Linked DNA regions of Homo sapiens: region 2 is linked to region 1. The links are contacts of gene promoters, found by promoter capture Hi-C in blood cells and fetal thymus (Javierre and others, 2016). All regions are on one chromosome and are shown on one strand. The core of a region is centred on a gene start or on the middle of the fragment in contact, and the rest is flanking DNA. Distances in the headings are between cores, read along the strand shown. Region 1 holds the start of ARHGAP18 (Rho GTPase activating protein 18). Region 2 overlaps LAMA2 (laminin subunit alpha 2).

The links. Contacts are between HindIII fragments. The CHiCAGO score rates a contact against its expected background, and 5 or more counts as called.
Region 2: a contact is called between a fragment that was not itself captured here and the fragment with the promoter of ARHGAP18 in region 1, in 1 of 17 cell types (erythroblasts). The highest score is 5.2, in erythroblasts.

What each region holds. Positions count from the first base shown.
Region 1 is chr6:129,708,098-129,711,782 of GRCh38, reverse strand. ARHGAP18 (Rho GTPase activating protein 18) reads left to right here and starts at 1,606. Exons shown (of 15, transcript NM_033515.3): 1 at 1,606-1,759. The coding sequence starts at 1,647. RefSeq lists a silencer at 1,253-1,332. The HindIII fragment of the contact is 10,321 bases long and covers 1-3,685 here.
Region 2 is chr6:129,500,535-129,504,442 of GRCh38, reverse strand. LAMA2 (laminin subunit alpha 2) reads right to left here. Exons shown (of 65, transcript NM_000426.4): 59 at 1,672-1,784; 60 at 1,163-1,352. It overlaps LOC102723409 (a long non-coding RNA gene), which reads left to right. Exons shown (of 8, transcript XR_001743860.2): 7 at 1,652-1,838. Among named protein-coding and RNA genes, the nearest start is that of ARHGAP18, 210 kb to the left of the region's middle. RefSeq lists an enhancer at 1,535-2,734. The HindIII fragment of the contact is 4,428 bases long and covers 409-3,908 here.

The DNA.
Region 1 (3,685 bases), core at 357-2,856:
GGAAGATATAAATTCCTTTTAAGGAAGACTTTTGTAAATTATAAGAAAGAGGGTTCAAAAATAAATTTCAGATACTTCTAGAGTATGTAAGGAGGAAGAAATTATTTTTCATGACTGTTTTAAATAATGATAAGGTATAAGCAATAAGTTTATGTAATGATGGAATTGGAAACTTGTTCAAGAGGAATTCTAGAGAGTTGAATGAATCATAAAAATCTAAAAAAACCTTCAGACTACTGGGTATGTCAGAGTAGAAGCCAGGCGTGGTGGCTCATGCCTGTAATCTCAATACTTTGGGAGCTTGAGCCAAGAGGATTGCTTGAGCCCAGGAGTTCAAGACCAGCCTGGGCAACACAGTGAGACCCTCCCTCTCCACAAAGCATAAAAAAATTAGCTGGGCGTGGTAGTGCATGCCTGTGGTCTTAGCTATTGGGGAGGCTGAGGCTGGAGGATTTCTTGAGCCTGGGAGGTTGAGGCTGCAGTGAGTTACAATCACCACTGTACTCCAGCCTGGGTGACAGAGTGAGACCCTGATTCAAAAACAAACCAAAAAAGTGATTTTTTTTTTTGGAGGGGAGATGGGGAGAAAGAACAGAGCTGTCTTTTGTGTTTATGATAATTTTGATCTTGTTTCTTAATCTGCAAAACAAAGAAGAGCATACTGGTGAAAAATAAAAGGAATGTAGCCTAGAATTCTGTTCAAATCCAGCTTCTGGCACTAGCAACTGTGTTATCTTAGTGAAGTTACTTAACTCGTCCCTCAGCCTTACTTTCCTTGTGTTATGTATAACACAGATGATAGTGATACCTATCTTGTACGGTGTGTGTGTGTGTGTGAGAGAGAGAGAATTGAATGGAATGAGATAATACATGTGAAACCCCCGTCCATGAGAGCTTGGCATATAGTAGGTGCTCAACAAATGGCAGGGACTTCTCTTGTTCTCAGCAATAACACTTAACAGAGCATTGGTAGGTCTATCCCTTTTTGGTGCTGAAAAATATTTTGCTAAAACAAGACGTATATTTGAGATTGGCTTTATGTGAAAGACGACGACATTCCAGGACACACAATTTTTATGAGGGCATTTTTAACCGGACACAAGGATCAAGCCTTTCTCGTCGTCTGGATTGCAGAGTTTTGCCGCGGGTTCGTTGTTTTTTACTATGGCTAATTTTAACGCTGAACATGAAGGGGTTAAGAAATGCCTTTACTCATGTTACATTAAGTAGCAGAAATTATAAGATAGAGGAATTGGGGAGGGAAAAAAAAAAGCCTTGGCAGCAACTCATGGTTTCCTAAGTAAGACGGCTTGTAGTTACAGTGATGAGTTGAATATACGTTCTGGCAGTTTAATCTGATCAGACTAACTTGGGGGTGGGTGCAACCCGTCGCTTCCACCCTTCGCCTCCTTTAACCAAAGCCGCCCAGAGTGCAATTGTCCAGAGTTGAAACCATGCTGTGAGTTGCAGCTTCTAATTGGAGAGGCAGGAAGCCCTTCCCTGGACAGACCCCGCCCCTCCCCGTGTGAATCGCCAGCCTGCGGGGAGGAGCTGGCCAATGCTAATGAGCGAGTTGCCAGGCGAGACAGGAACTTCTTTCCCCTTCTCTGTGTCAGGATCGCAGAAAGTATGTCCCTTCTCTCACCATGAGCTGGCTCTCCAGTTCCCAGGGAGTGGTACTAACAGCCTACCACCCCAGCGGCAAGGACCAGACCGTCGGGAACAGCCATGCAAAGGCAGGGGAGGAAGCCACCTCGAGGTAAGCCTTCGGAAGCTGAAAACAAAACAAAACCCTCTTACCTGCTCCAGGAAGAAAGTGACAGGGAAGTTGGCGTGGGGAGAAGGGAATTCCATCTGCACGTCGAGCCTGAGCTCGTGCAGCAGCAGTAGCAACGTTTGGCGTGATTTTTATGTACTTTTCATCTCACCTAGTCCAAGTCTGAAATAACCCATATGATTACTGGTGAAGACAGAGAAGAAGGAACTGGGGAGAGGGCTATATGGGCTGTCAGACTAGCTATTTAGCAGGTGCATTTGCACATGCTGAAAGATCAAATAGGTCTATCTGAAACACTTCCTTTCCTATGAAATGGAATTCTTGAATGGGCTCAAGGCACTGCCACTGGAACTGTTCGCTGGGAAAGTCTGCCAAAAAGCAGGGAGGCTGTTCACTGTACTGTACAAGCTGTTGTTGTTAGAGTGTTTTTTTTCCCCCCTCTCTTTGCTGAAAGCAAACCTCTTAGGCAAAAAGCCCAAGACACTGGCCTGTGGCAATATGTTTCACATTCTTTTGTGTATGTGGATTTTTTTTCCCCCAGGCTTTCAAAAAGGAGTTTTTGTCAGGAGATAGCACTCTGCTGCTGGAGTGAAATGTGGTTAATGTTAAATCACTTTATAGGCAGAGAGGGCAAATGTTCTATAGACCACTGAGGCGCAAAGGGTACCTTTCTCCCTATCTGTGTACTTTGTTCCATTTTCCAAGGGCTTTTTTTTTTCTTTCTCTCCTTAATGACCTTCTCACTAGCTGAACATTTTTACCTCCATCAAGATATAAATAGTAAATATTGGCCTAGAAGATTGCAAGAAGCAAATACTAACCTAATAGCCTAGAACACTAAATTAGTTATCGGTAAGCACATTTCCTCCTCAATGCTTAATGTGATAATAAAACCTTCTTTGTTCTTATGTGACTTATGCCTGTGCCTTAAGCTGAAATAATGCTGCCTTTCATTTGTTTTAAAATCTCCAAATATGAGGGAGGGAGAAAAATCAAAGGAATGGCTGTAATACTCAGTGTTAGACTCCCAGCTGACGGGAACTGTTTCTCACATAGCATCCACAGTATGTATTTCATTGAATGAATTCATTTCCAAAGATAAAAAAGATTTGGTGCTTGTGCCTTAGCTGTGTTACCATTTCATTTTCCATCATTTTAAATGACTTAATGTTAAATCATTAAATCAAGAGATCTTGAAGTGTTTTCATCCATTTTTCTGTAATGTATTAGTAATCATTAAGCAGTAAAGCAGCCTGCAACACCAACCCCATACCCAGCCATAACTTGGATTCCACATGTCAGTCAAAATTGCCAAAATTATACAAGCTCAGGACATTCTCCGACTTTAGGCTGAATGGCCTGAGGACCTGAGCTGAATCTTGGATCTTGATTGTGAGAATGGAAAGGACCTTAAGGACTGAGTCCTAACCTCTCATTTTCACGTAGGACTCAAACCCCAGGGATTAGTTAAGTTTTTGGAAGGTCTGGAGTTCTAGGCCTTTGTCTGGGGCTGCATCTCCAGTTCTGGAGACTCATTATTCTGTGTTTGCAGTGTGGGTGGCCCATACTTGAGTGGGTTGAGAGAATAAGAGAGGATCAGATCATTCTCTGCCTAGGCTGAAGCAGAACCAAGAGGCACTAAGGTGGCAGGGTGGGCAGCTGCCCACACGGCAAGTGCCCTGTGTGGGGCCACAGCTCCAGGTGAGCTCCTTTGCTGGCTGTCACGTAGCCTGCCCATACCAGACCCAACTTCCCACCACTGAATTAGTTCTAGGGATCGTTCCTGATATTGACCGGAGAAGATGGGAGCCTGGTTTGAGGGCAGGGAGGAAGGAGGGAGTAGGGCTAGTTTTCAATGGCTTTTACCCTTAAGGGCTAACGAATCAGATAAACTTGTTGTTGTTTTGG
Region 2 (3,908 bases), core at 1,373-3,872, 210 kb after region 1:
CTATTCTGGTTTGGGAAGTAATTTTTAAAAACCATCAAAAATAAAATCCGTTATTAATTTGACTAATTATAGTATTTAAGTTCCCTTTCTTAATCCCAGCCTCATTGTGGTTCAACAATATGTCTTTTTCTCAAATGTCATATTTATTATTCTATTAGCTAGAGATGGAAGAACTCTTAATGAGAGCTCCTTCATTTGGATCTGTATTTGCTAGTCATAAGCTCCCAGCAAAAATGAAGATTCCTTTTCTTATTTCCATGATAACAAATTGGTTGGCTTCGCGTTTTTTAAGGTTCTTTGGCTTTCTAGAATATGACAAGTCAAAGTATGTTAACATTAACCAAATCTAACATCTAATAATATCGTACTCTGAAAATTAAAAATTTTATTGGTCTACCTAGGGAAGCTTTGCTTTAATAGGCTATCGCAGGTGCAGAGACAAATGTTGAGATTTTGTTTTAATCAGGCAGTATATTATCTATTTGCAGTCATGCCAAAGAGGACAGTAAGCTGGCAAATGAGCCTTCTGTGCCCATAATAGTACCAGTTTCTGGGTGTAAGGCCAACGTTTTTAAAGTTGTTCCAAATAACTGTCAGTAGAAATGATACCTTAGAGCCCTTTAAACACGATCAACCAGAGATTCCTGGATTCCTGGTTTTCACAGACCACTGTGTGGTTAGGTGGGGAGTCTTGGGACCCATTTTAGTGTTGCCAACTTTTGCTTTTGGCAAATACTATTTCATAATAGAAAGGCCTTTTAGCCACCATAAAAATGCTATAATATAATCTCAGAATAAATATTATTCCTTAAAATTGAATACATCGAGCTTGATGGTGAACACACTCTGTTCTACGTTTCTCACTTAGAGCAGTGGAAATGTCTTCAGCCACCTGGCCTCAGTTTATGGGTAGATGTTTGAAAACCACAGCCATATAGCAGTGATGGAACCATGATGAGGCATGCCAGTGGTCAAATGCAAACCTACACAGGTCTGAGCACATTTTCCAAGATTGTGGTAGTTGTATATGGCACTTATTTTATTTTTAGCTTCTGCCAGAGTCAGTGTCTGCCCTGGCAAAATATACTGGCACCAGGAGAATGCTGATGGCTGCCACTCAGTAATTCCCTTAGGGTACTGCCAATATCCAGGGGACTATTACCTTGTGCCACTGGCCATCATTGATTTTGGTGGGGATCATGGTGTGGGTGTCCCCACTCCCCAAGTCATAGCTGAAGTAGGGCAATCCATTTCTCAGCTGAACTGTTGCAAAATCAGCATGATTGATGCGAGCCATGTAAAAAAGCAAGCCGGATTCAGCTTCGGTTCTTACTTCCAACTCAATTGTGAGACTGTGAAACAAAAGCATGCAAAGTCAAACAGAAAAATAACAGCATTCTCATGCTAAAATAGAGCGGTATCAGATCGTGGCTGCATTTTCATAAAGGAGAGTAAAACCTTCTCAGAGATGAGGACTTTATCAGGCTACTGATTTCCTAAATTGGGCTCCTCAGGCTCAGACAAATAAAATTCTATTCTCTATTGTACTCAGTGAATAAAAGAAAAGCTAACTTCATTAATTAATAAGTGTAGTAGATTCAACTTGATTAAACACAAATACTCAGTTCTTCATTTATCGGTTCTTTCCCAGTGTCTCAGGATGATACATACCGGTTTTTAACTTTGGTGTCATCAAATGCAATTGCAATGTGACTGTTTCTTGAAAGCCCGAACTGCTTGCTCCCTATCAAAAGAGCTGGTTCTGATTCTGCAGCACAAGGACCCTGTAAAATACCCAGGAGAGAAAAACAGGAGATTATGGACTGTTCTTTAAAAAGGTAATGATGCTGTCTAATTGTTTCTTACATATTAGCGTAATTCTTTAAGAATAAAAACTACATTATTCATCTCTGTAGTCTACTGCATAGTAAGTACTTATTATTGAGTGCTCAGTGCGTGTGAATCAGTTTTCTCATATCACACCCTGGAATGGCTAAAGGAATGTGCTCAGACATATTTATTGATTAACTCATAGTTTCATTATCCTCTAAAAATTTATGTATATTTCTGAGAAAACTGGAATTTCCCTTTCATTTTTCCTTCACATATGAAGAGCTCTATTCTTAGAAGATCGAACAGGGAAAATGACAAGCTAGCCACTTGGGTTATAAGAGTAGCAAAATGTGTTTTTTCTTGCCCTCCCCATTTCCATCTCCCACTATATTACTTTTTCTTGAAAATTATCAGTCCACTAGAAGGTTTCCATGAATGTAGACTTTCAAGATGGTGTATCTAAACCTGCACGTCAGCCCATTCAGGCCCTTGCCAGTTGCTAGGCAACCCAGCACATTTTAAAAATGTAACCCACCATACACCATTTCAACTGCCACTGTTCAAAGATCAGCTTCCTAGGGTGCTGAGGGGGAGAGCTAGGTGCGGGGCTGTGCAGTCACATGGTTTAATGCTCTGCTGTCACCATCTTGAAATTCTTAATAATTTTTCAGTGAGGGGCCCTGCATTTTCCATTTTGCACTGGGCCTTGCAAAGCATACAGCAGTCCTGGCTGAGTAGATCACATTTGGCTACCATAACACACAGCTCCATAAATAATCAAGGCTCCTTAAATTACCAAAGCCACAATTCCTTTCCCTGTTCTCTATTTTCACAAGATAGGTCGATATACAGGCTGCTTATGACATCTCTTAGAACATGCAGTACATGAGAAAATAACCTGCACACTCTCACCAACACATCTGTTTTTAAGATCTGCACTTAATAGCTCTGGCTGGGCCGCTGCCCCAGTGAGTGCTGACTCAGCAGAGGTTCTCAAGCAGCCCAAGGCAGGCTTTTGATGCACAGTGTTCTTCCCAAAGAGTGTACCTCAGAGATGACTCATCAGCACACAGGAAATTTTTACTTGATGAGGAAAAGCCTTGTTCTCTTTTCTCTTGATCTTAGTCAAACGAAGCACTCTGCCACAGCAGGTAAAAGGCTTAAAGTGTTTTGAAATGCCGTAAAATTGGTCTTCATGGAAGTATTTCCCTTCTTGCTTCCCAGGAGATGGTCAGTTATAAAGAGCAGACTGTGGCCGAAATTCACACAGCTATGCAAAACCCCGTGGGTAGGACAGGAAAATGCTATTCATTCGCACAGCTGAATGGCCTCTTTTAGAGGCAGCATGTGGCACCTTTCTTATTACGCTGCCTGCAAAAAGAGCCCGAATGGAAAGGCCTCTGTAGCTTAAGATCTCAGTCATGAATACTTCTATTAATAGAATTGGGATCTTTTATCAGCCTCTCACGATATTTCCCGGACAGAGGACCGTCTCGATAAACACACGCAGCTTGCAGTCTTCCTCAGAAATCACTAAGATAATCCTATCTGCTGTGAGTCCACTGGGGGCAGAATTTCACTGAAACATCTTTACACCCTCAGCTCTGAAAATTGAGGGATTAAGAAAGGTGGATGGATGCTGAGGAATTAGGAAACAATTACATGTAGCTTAAAAGAGAACCACCAGTGGGTTATGTCCATATTATTGCGGTTACAGTCACTCGTCTAATTACTATATGTAAATGTCAATATAACTTCTCTATTAAAATTTAAAAAATTTTCAAGGTGGCAGTTGTACACTCCCGGTAGCAGCTGTATGTTATGGGGAACTTTTGGATTGCTGGTAGACTGGACAGGTGTATCCAAAACTGGTCCTGAGCTAAGCAGCAGTTTTTTGGTTTGTTTTTATTTTGTTGTTGTTTCGTTGTATACTATGAGATTTTCTAGATGGACAAGGCACTGGTCAAGCCATTTTAGAAAAAAACCTTTGACCAGAAAAGGACAGGGACTTTGTCAAAGTTCTTTTAAGAATCATTACAGGTTACATCCACTTGAAATTTAGGAAGAAGAACACC